Linked DNA regions of Homo sapiens: region 2 is linked to region 1. Evidence: promoter capture Hi-C in 16 types of primary human blood cells and fetal thymus (Javierre and others, 2016). All regions are on one chromosome and are shown on one strand. Each heading gives the region's core, a stretch centred on a gene start or on the middle of the fragment in contact. The rest is flanking DNA. Distances are from core to core; before and after follow the strand shown. Region 1 holds the start of PAPPA-AS1 (PAPPA antisense RNA 1). Region 2 overlaps PAPPA (pappalysin 1).

Region 1 (3,216 bases), core at 683-3,182:
TTTCTTATAACATGTAAGAAAGTTTTTCAGTTTTTGCATATGCAAAATTAGATACTTTCAGGAATTAATTTTGTAGAGGAATCGATATATATTGGATAAAATCTTGTTCTATCATTGATTGTCTAATTCCAGGCCCCAGGGCTCTCTCCATGTTAGCGTGTATATATGACAGCCCTTTATCATTCCGCAACACACAAAAACCACACAACAACACACTGAAGCGTACAAGCTATTATATATTTTCATAATATAGAACTTTAAAGTATAGTAATCAACAGTGGCAAAATATTTCTGTCTCTGACATTATTATTTGTGAGATCCAACCTGTAATTGAGATCAGAGAAAACAGTATGGGAAAACAAATCCATGAGAACAGGATAAAAATATCATGAACAGCAAAATATGTCTGAGTATTTAAAACTGTATAGAAAAAATAAATTAGATGAACAATTGTGTAAATATAAATTAAAAAAGATGACATTCTTAATAAATAAAGTTTACTATTTACATTTTTATATATTGCCAAAAGATTTAACTTAGATCCATAAAAACACATAAACAGAAAAAAAAATAGGAGCAGCAAATTTATGCGCGTGAGGTACAGAAAAAGGATTGGAATTGTGTTTAGTTTTTGGTGTTTAGATTATTTTCTTTGTGTCTTTCTTCTTTTTCTTTTTTTTTTTCTTTTTTACAATAGGCCAGAAGAATTCTTATGAGAACAGCTTTTAAGCACTTCAATGGAGTGTCATTTTTTTGGTAGCTTCCAGAAGGTGCCAAACAGGTTTCAACATCATATTAATTAGAAATACCCATAATAATTATAACAATAATAAAAAGGTATAATATGGTACATAAATATGGAAGAGCAGTTTGTAATATGAATACATTTTCTCTAGACGAGATCACAGTTTTATTTTGTAAATATTACATTTAAGTATATATATACACACATATATGTACAACTATATATACATGTGCATATATATGTAAATTTATATTTATATATAATATCTTTATATAGATAGATATCTGCAGACAGGTTATTGATTATAGAGACCCAAGAAAGCAACTCAATAATTGTTCAAAGTTTTCCTCACTGACTGCTGGTGTGTAGTTTAAGAAGCCCCCATTTGTTTGCACTCAGAATGCCTTATCTTCTTTTAATGGAACACTTGATGTGGAATTTTAAGTCTGAGAAGTGAGGTGCCTTCTGAAGAAGAGATTTTAGAGACTCCCTTCCTCTATAAGTTGGAAATGACCAGAAGTCTTAAGTAGACGACAGTTAGCTGACTTTGACATTGTAGGACATAATCAGCTTTTAACCAAATTATAGAACTGGTAAAGGGTAAGATCAAATTTGCCAAAAAAATAAAATATTCTCCAATACAGGTCTCTCTTTTAAGGTGGACTACAATTCAGGAGCTCCGGCTTTATTCCTTGAAATATCAAACAAGCACTCCCTGTCTTGTCTTTCTAAAAGGCCGATGGGCCTGTGCATTCTTGAATAATAACCCATGGACTTTGTGTCAAGCGTTGGCCCTCACAGCCCACCTAAAACCTCAGGGCCTCAAAATCTCCTGCCCTCCCACTGTGAGGTAGGTATATAGTATTATCCCCATTTTGCAGCTAGAGAAACTGATGCAAATGTAGAGGCAATTGGATAACTTGTTCAAGATCACTGAGCAAACTGCTGCCTGGAGTCAAAAATTCTAACTTCTGTACAACAGGGACATAATTTCTCTTTTGGCTATTATACATTTCTTTTAAAAAGCAAGTGATTGGTAGGAATTTGGCAAAAGTTGAATAAGTTACAAGAACAGGCTTTTATTCATTTGCTATTTGGTTTTTATGTTTCTTGTTTACTTCGTTTGATTTGTTTCTCAAAACTCACTCAGTGGGATTACCTGTCTGTCATGTAGCAGCTTTTTAAAAAACTGGACTGTGCAGTGTGGTTCTGAGTGCAGTCTTTATAAAGCCCAGTGCTGTACTGGTAAATATAAACATTTTATAACGTGAAAAGCACAACGACACAATATGTCCCCTTAATAGCTGGAAAAACCAATATAAGCCCTCCCACTCCCTACTACCACTGATTGCCACCAAACAAATAAACAAAATGCCCACCCCACCCAACAACAACAATAACACATCAAGGGGGAAAATGTCATATTTCCTGGACCTACCACAATGTACAGAAAATAACAGACAGTGTTATCAAATCCCACTCTATGTCTTCTAGGGAAATCTTTATGTTTGTGTCTACCTACTGAGGCTGTAGAATAAACAATTTCCTTTAGGAAACATAAAAATAGGTTTTTTATTCTTAGTTTTTAATCATGCATTTTTATTTCCTTTTAATCTCTTTGTCTTCTATTATCTCTATCTGTACAGCTTTGTCACCATTTTTTTTTATTTTCTCACTTGAAGTAGTTCCAGAAAAAAACACAAAACCTCAAAACTGTTAACTTGACCTTATAATTTCCTTTCTCTTTCTTTCTTTCTTTCTTTTTCTTTCTTTCACACAGGTAAGACCTATAACAACAAATTGACAATTACAACCAAGTTAAATCGAACCTGGAAGGGAGGTAGCTGAAATCTGTCTCAAAGAATTATTTTCAACAAATAGTATTTAAGCATTGGCCAGGATGGGAATAAGACCAAGAGAACCGTCTAGGCAGTGACTCAATGTGTTGAAGCCAGGAGTGGCAGCTGATACCCTGCATTTTCAAAGCCCTACCATCTATGACAATCTTTCCCTTCCTTAACACCCCAATTCACCATCAAAACTCATTTCCCAAGGACTGTATTTCCTTAAAAGGTTGTTGGCACAGAATCTGGGGGTAATGCAAATCCTTTGGGTAGGTAGTTAAGATTGTGGCTTGGAAAAGCTTCCCTAAATAGGGCTTAGAGGACTGTCCACCTCATCTTTCATATTTTGCTGCTAACAATCTAATACTTCAGATGCAGAACCTTCAGTGTTTTAGGGCCTTTGAGCTGCTGACACACAATAGTGCATCAGAGCTGCCTCTCAGTGCTCCGGTCACCTACACAGAAGATGACTGAAGGAATGAAATGACGAGTTAATTCCCAGGAAGAAAATGAAACTGGGAACAAATGCATTGCCCAAATTGAGCTGACCCTCCTCCACTAAGGTTTGAAAAGACCCTATTAAAGATACCTTCCATGTGGGCACGAGGTTGGCCACCAATCAAGTAG
Region 2 (3,414 bases), core at 185-2,684, 240 kb after region 1:
CATAGGAATGACTTCTTGATTACAAGGATAATAGGTACAGGTTGGACCACTGGCTTCCTAAACACACAAGGCTATAACAGGTCTCAGCAACTAGTGGTACGCTGCCCCTACTCACATACTTCGATATTCCAAGTTGTTACTGACCAGCTTTTATGTCTTAGCTTCCTCCAAGTGGGTTGGAATCTGAGACCTGACCAGGGTTCTCTACAATCTAAAGTAGAAGAGGGGAACCTCTTATATTCTTCCAAGTTCTGTGGACCCTGGGTTTGTGGCAAATAATACCAAAAAACAAACACATTTTCTTTATCTTGTTTGGAGAAAAATCCAAGTGGTCAAAGCAAATAAGCTGGGTATGAGGAGTAGGAAGAGAGAGAAGAAGGAGGGAGTTGAGAGGAAGCTGGATATACTTCAGAGATGACAGTTCCAGGGATCCTCTGAAGGAAAATAGTCTGGAAAATGATGACAGACTCCAGAGTTTTGGTATTTTAATTCACTGAGTTATCTGATTAAAATGATAAGCAATACTACAAGGCCGGTGGTCTATTCCAAAGTCCAGGAATTTGTCTGGAATGGCCTTTATATCCTAAGAAATTACAAAATATGAACATGCTAGCATTCACCCAGTAAGTGATGACTGGGAGTCACTCAGCAAGTTTTCTGGATATTTGTGGGGGCTAGAATTAGTTATATTATTAATAGGATGGATTCCAGCTATCAGGAAGTACCAATATTCCCCAAATAATGTCTTCAGTCAGTCTTAGAAATTCTACCACTGTTACATTGCTTTGTGACACAAAGCTTTCTGGGAAGTCCTAAAAGAGTATCCACCAATGGAGCAGTAACATTCCAAGTTGTTACCAGTCAATGGTACTTAGCAAGAAGGTGTACCATCTTCTTTTTTCCCCAGTGTTGCTGAGGTGTGGAAGCCGAAAATGTGTCCACACTTGGCCCCTGAGGGTGACAGGCACAGGCACCACCTAGTGGAGGAAAATACACCAGAAAAGGAAGAAAACTGGAACTATTGCCAACTTCACAGTTTTGTCTGAGGACAGCCTTGATGAGGATTATAGAATCCTAGGAAGTGTCTGTAGAAGTGTCTTTAGTGCAAATAATCCCTACAGTACCACAAAGTTCAGATGTGAAAACTGGTTCTGAGAGGGAGAGTGACTTGCCTAAAGTCACACAGCAAACTAGTGCTAGAACTGACATCTCCTAGCTCAAAGCATTGCTCCTCCTTTTGCGATACACCATGGCCTTCTCCAGAGAGCCTCAGGCCTGCTCATAGGTCTCTTCTTCAAAGCTACTCTGATGATGGCCTCCCTTGACCACTCTTTTCATATCCCACTCCTCTCTCCTCCTGCATCCCCACTCCCACACAGCATTCCTAGACTTCCTTCTCAACTTTTTCTTTACAAACATTCACCTGACATTATGGGATATATATGCTTATTCATTTATAGTCTGTCTCCACCTTCTCCCCAACACCCACTGCCCAGAATATAAACTCCCTGAGGGCGGAGATGTTTCTCTCTTTTGTTGACTGGTCTGTCCTCAAGGCCTAAAACTGTACCCAGCACAGAGCAGAAACTCAAAAAATAGTTGTTGCATGCTTGGGCAGGAAATAGACAAATTTTACCTGGTCTCTTGTTCTTTGTCTGCATTTCTGAGATTTTTTTTACAATGAGCATGCACTATTTTTTTTTAAATGACACAATAATGTGTTTATCTTGTTAGCCTTTCATTTTAGTTGTTTAAATTTTTAATTTTTCTATGTTAAGATGACAGCAATAACTCTTTCCTGAGTTGTAAGGGAGGAAAAGGCAATTCCTGGCTTTGCCAAAAGAGATAAGTATGTCTAACTCCTAGAGTTATTGAGATTATTAGAAATAATGCGTGGCAATGGCTGGCACACATAATACTGATATGAGTTAACGTTTGCTGGGTTACCGCATGGTCTAGATTCCATTACTAAGCATTTTCCACATGGAGGCCCAGTTAATCTTCAAAACAACCCTATGAAGTAACAGCTAGTATTATCTGCACTTTACAGAGGGGAAAAGTGAAGCTTGGAGATACTAAGTAACTTGCCCAAGGTCACACAACCAGCAGGTGCAATAGTCAGGGTTTGACCAGGCAGTTTGATTCCTGAGTCCTGTGATCAACCATTGCAAAATACTTCCTCAGTAAACATATGCTCCTGCAGGTCACTGCCCCAGGCCTCTAGAAGGCTCTAGAATTGCTCTCCAGGTAGTTAGGGATGGAGAGAAATAAGGAACCAGAAAAACGAGAACTAAGGGTATGTGGACCTGTGAGTATATGAGTATGTGTGTGTGTATCGTCACAATACTTCTGGGCCTGTCACAATCACTAACAGATCCCATGAAATTCTCATAAACAGGGCCAAAGATGCTAAACATTTCACAATATGTAGGGCAGTCCCATACAGCAAATAATTTTCTCACTCAAAAGCTTCTTATTGCAGAGCAAGCCTCCACTTGCCCCTTCTCCATGCTCCTCCTAAGGCTCCCCTCATCACTTTTATTCCCCTCGAGTTCTCCCTGGATAATCATTTTCACTTGAGTTTGCAAGTGTACAGAGAGGAGGGGATGGGGAGCTCCTCAGATCTGAAGCCTGGGCTGTGTCACGACTTTCAGCTAATCTTTGTGCGACCTTGGGGGAGTCCCTAACCCTCTCTAAACGGTGGTCTCCGTATTTGCAAACCTTTCAGGTCACAGAACACGCAGGGAACTGAGACTTCACTTCCTCCTGTGGCTCTCAAACACTTTTAGTATTTTTAACTTTTTATTATGGAAATCTTCAATCACACACCACAGCATGAACAAAAATGTATTAAAGCTCCAAGGTTTAATCACTTGGTTTCAACAATTGTTATCAGTTTGCTAATCTCTCACCAACCACTACCCCCAGAACCTTTTTTTTTTTTTTTCTGGAGCTTTTTAAACAAATAAACAAACAAAATAGACAAAACATAATTTTACCCACAAGTACTTCAGTATGCATTTCTAACAAATTAGGATCTTTAAAAAAACATAACAACAATATCATATCACACCTATCAAGATTAACAATAACTCCTCAATGTCAGTCCATATCCATTTAAACTCTTTGTAATGGAGGAACATATTCCTTTAAACATAAGCTTGTAGAATCACACAATTTAAGTGGAATAAGGTGAAGGGAAGGAGAGAGGCAGAGTCCTGCCCTTCACCCTTGTCCCAGAAGTTTGAAAAGTTTGAAAGTCGCTATTTTACCCCTGACAGTTTGAAAGTCGCTATTTTACCCCTGACCCTCCTTTTGCATCCTGAGAACACTGAGGTCCAGAGAGAAGCGGTAAATGGTCAAGGTCATAAAGCAGTAAGTGGCAGGATTTGGCAGACTTATGAAGTCCCAACA

The links. Contacts are between HindIII fragments. The CHiCAGO score rates a contact against its expected background, and 5 or more counts as called.
Region 2: a contact is called between a fragment that was not itself captured here and the fragment with the promoter of PAPPA-AS1 in region 1, in 1 of 17 cell types (M2 macrophages). The highest score is 6.8, in M2 macrophages.

Annotation. Positions count from the first base shown.
Region 1 is chr9:116,399,322-116,402,537 of GRCh38, reverse strand. PAPPA-AS1 (PAPPA antisense RNA 1) reads left to right here and starts at 1,932. Exons shown (of 1, transcript NR_103711.1): 1 at 1,932-3,216. PAPPA (pappalysin 1) reads right to left here. Exons shown (of 22, transcript NM_002581.5): 22 at 217-3,216. The HindIII fragment of the contact is 11,566 bases long and covers 1-2,890 here.
Region 2 is chr9:116,161,243-116,164,656 of GRCh38, reverse strand. The region is part of intron 1 of PAPPA (pappalysin 1); the gene reads right to left. Among named protein-coding and RNA genes, the nearest start is that of PAPPA, 9.2 kb to the right of the region's middle. The HindIII fragment of the contact is 1,267 bases long and covers 801-2,067 here.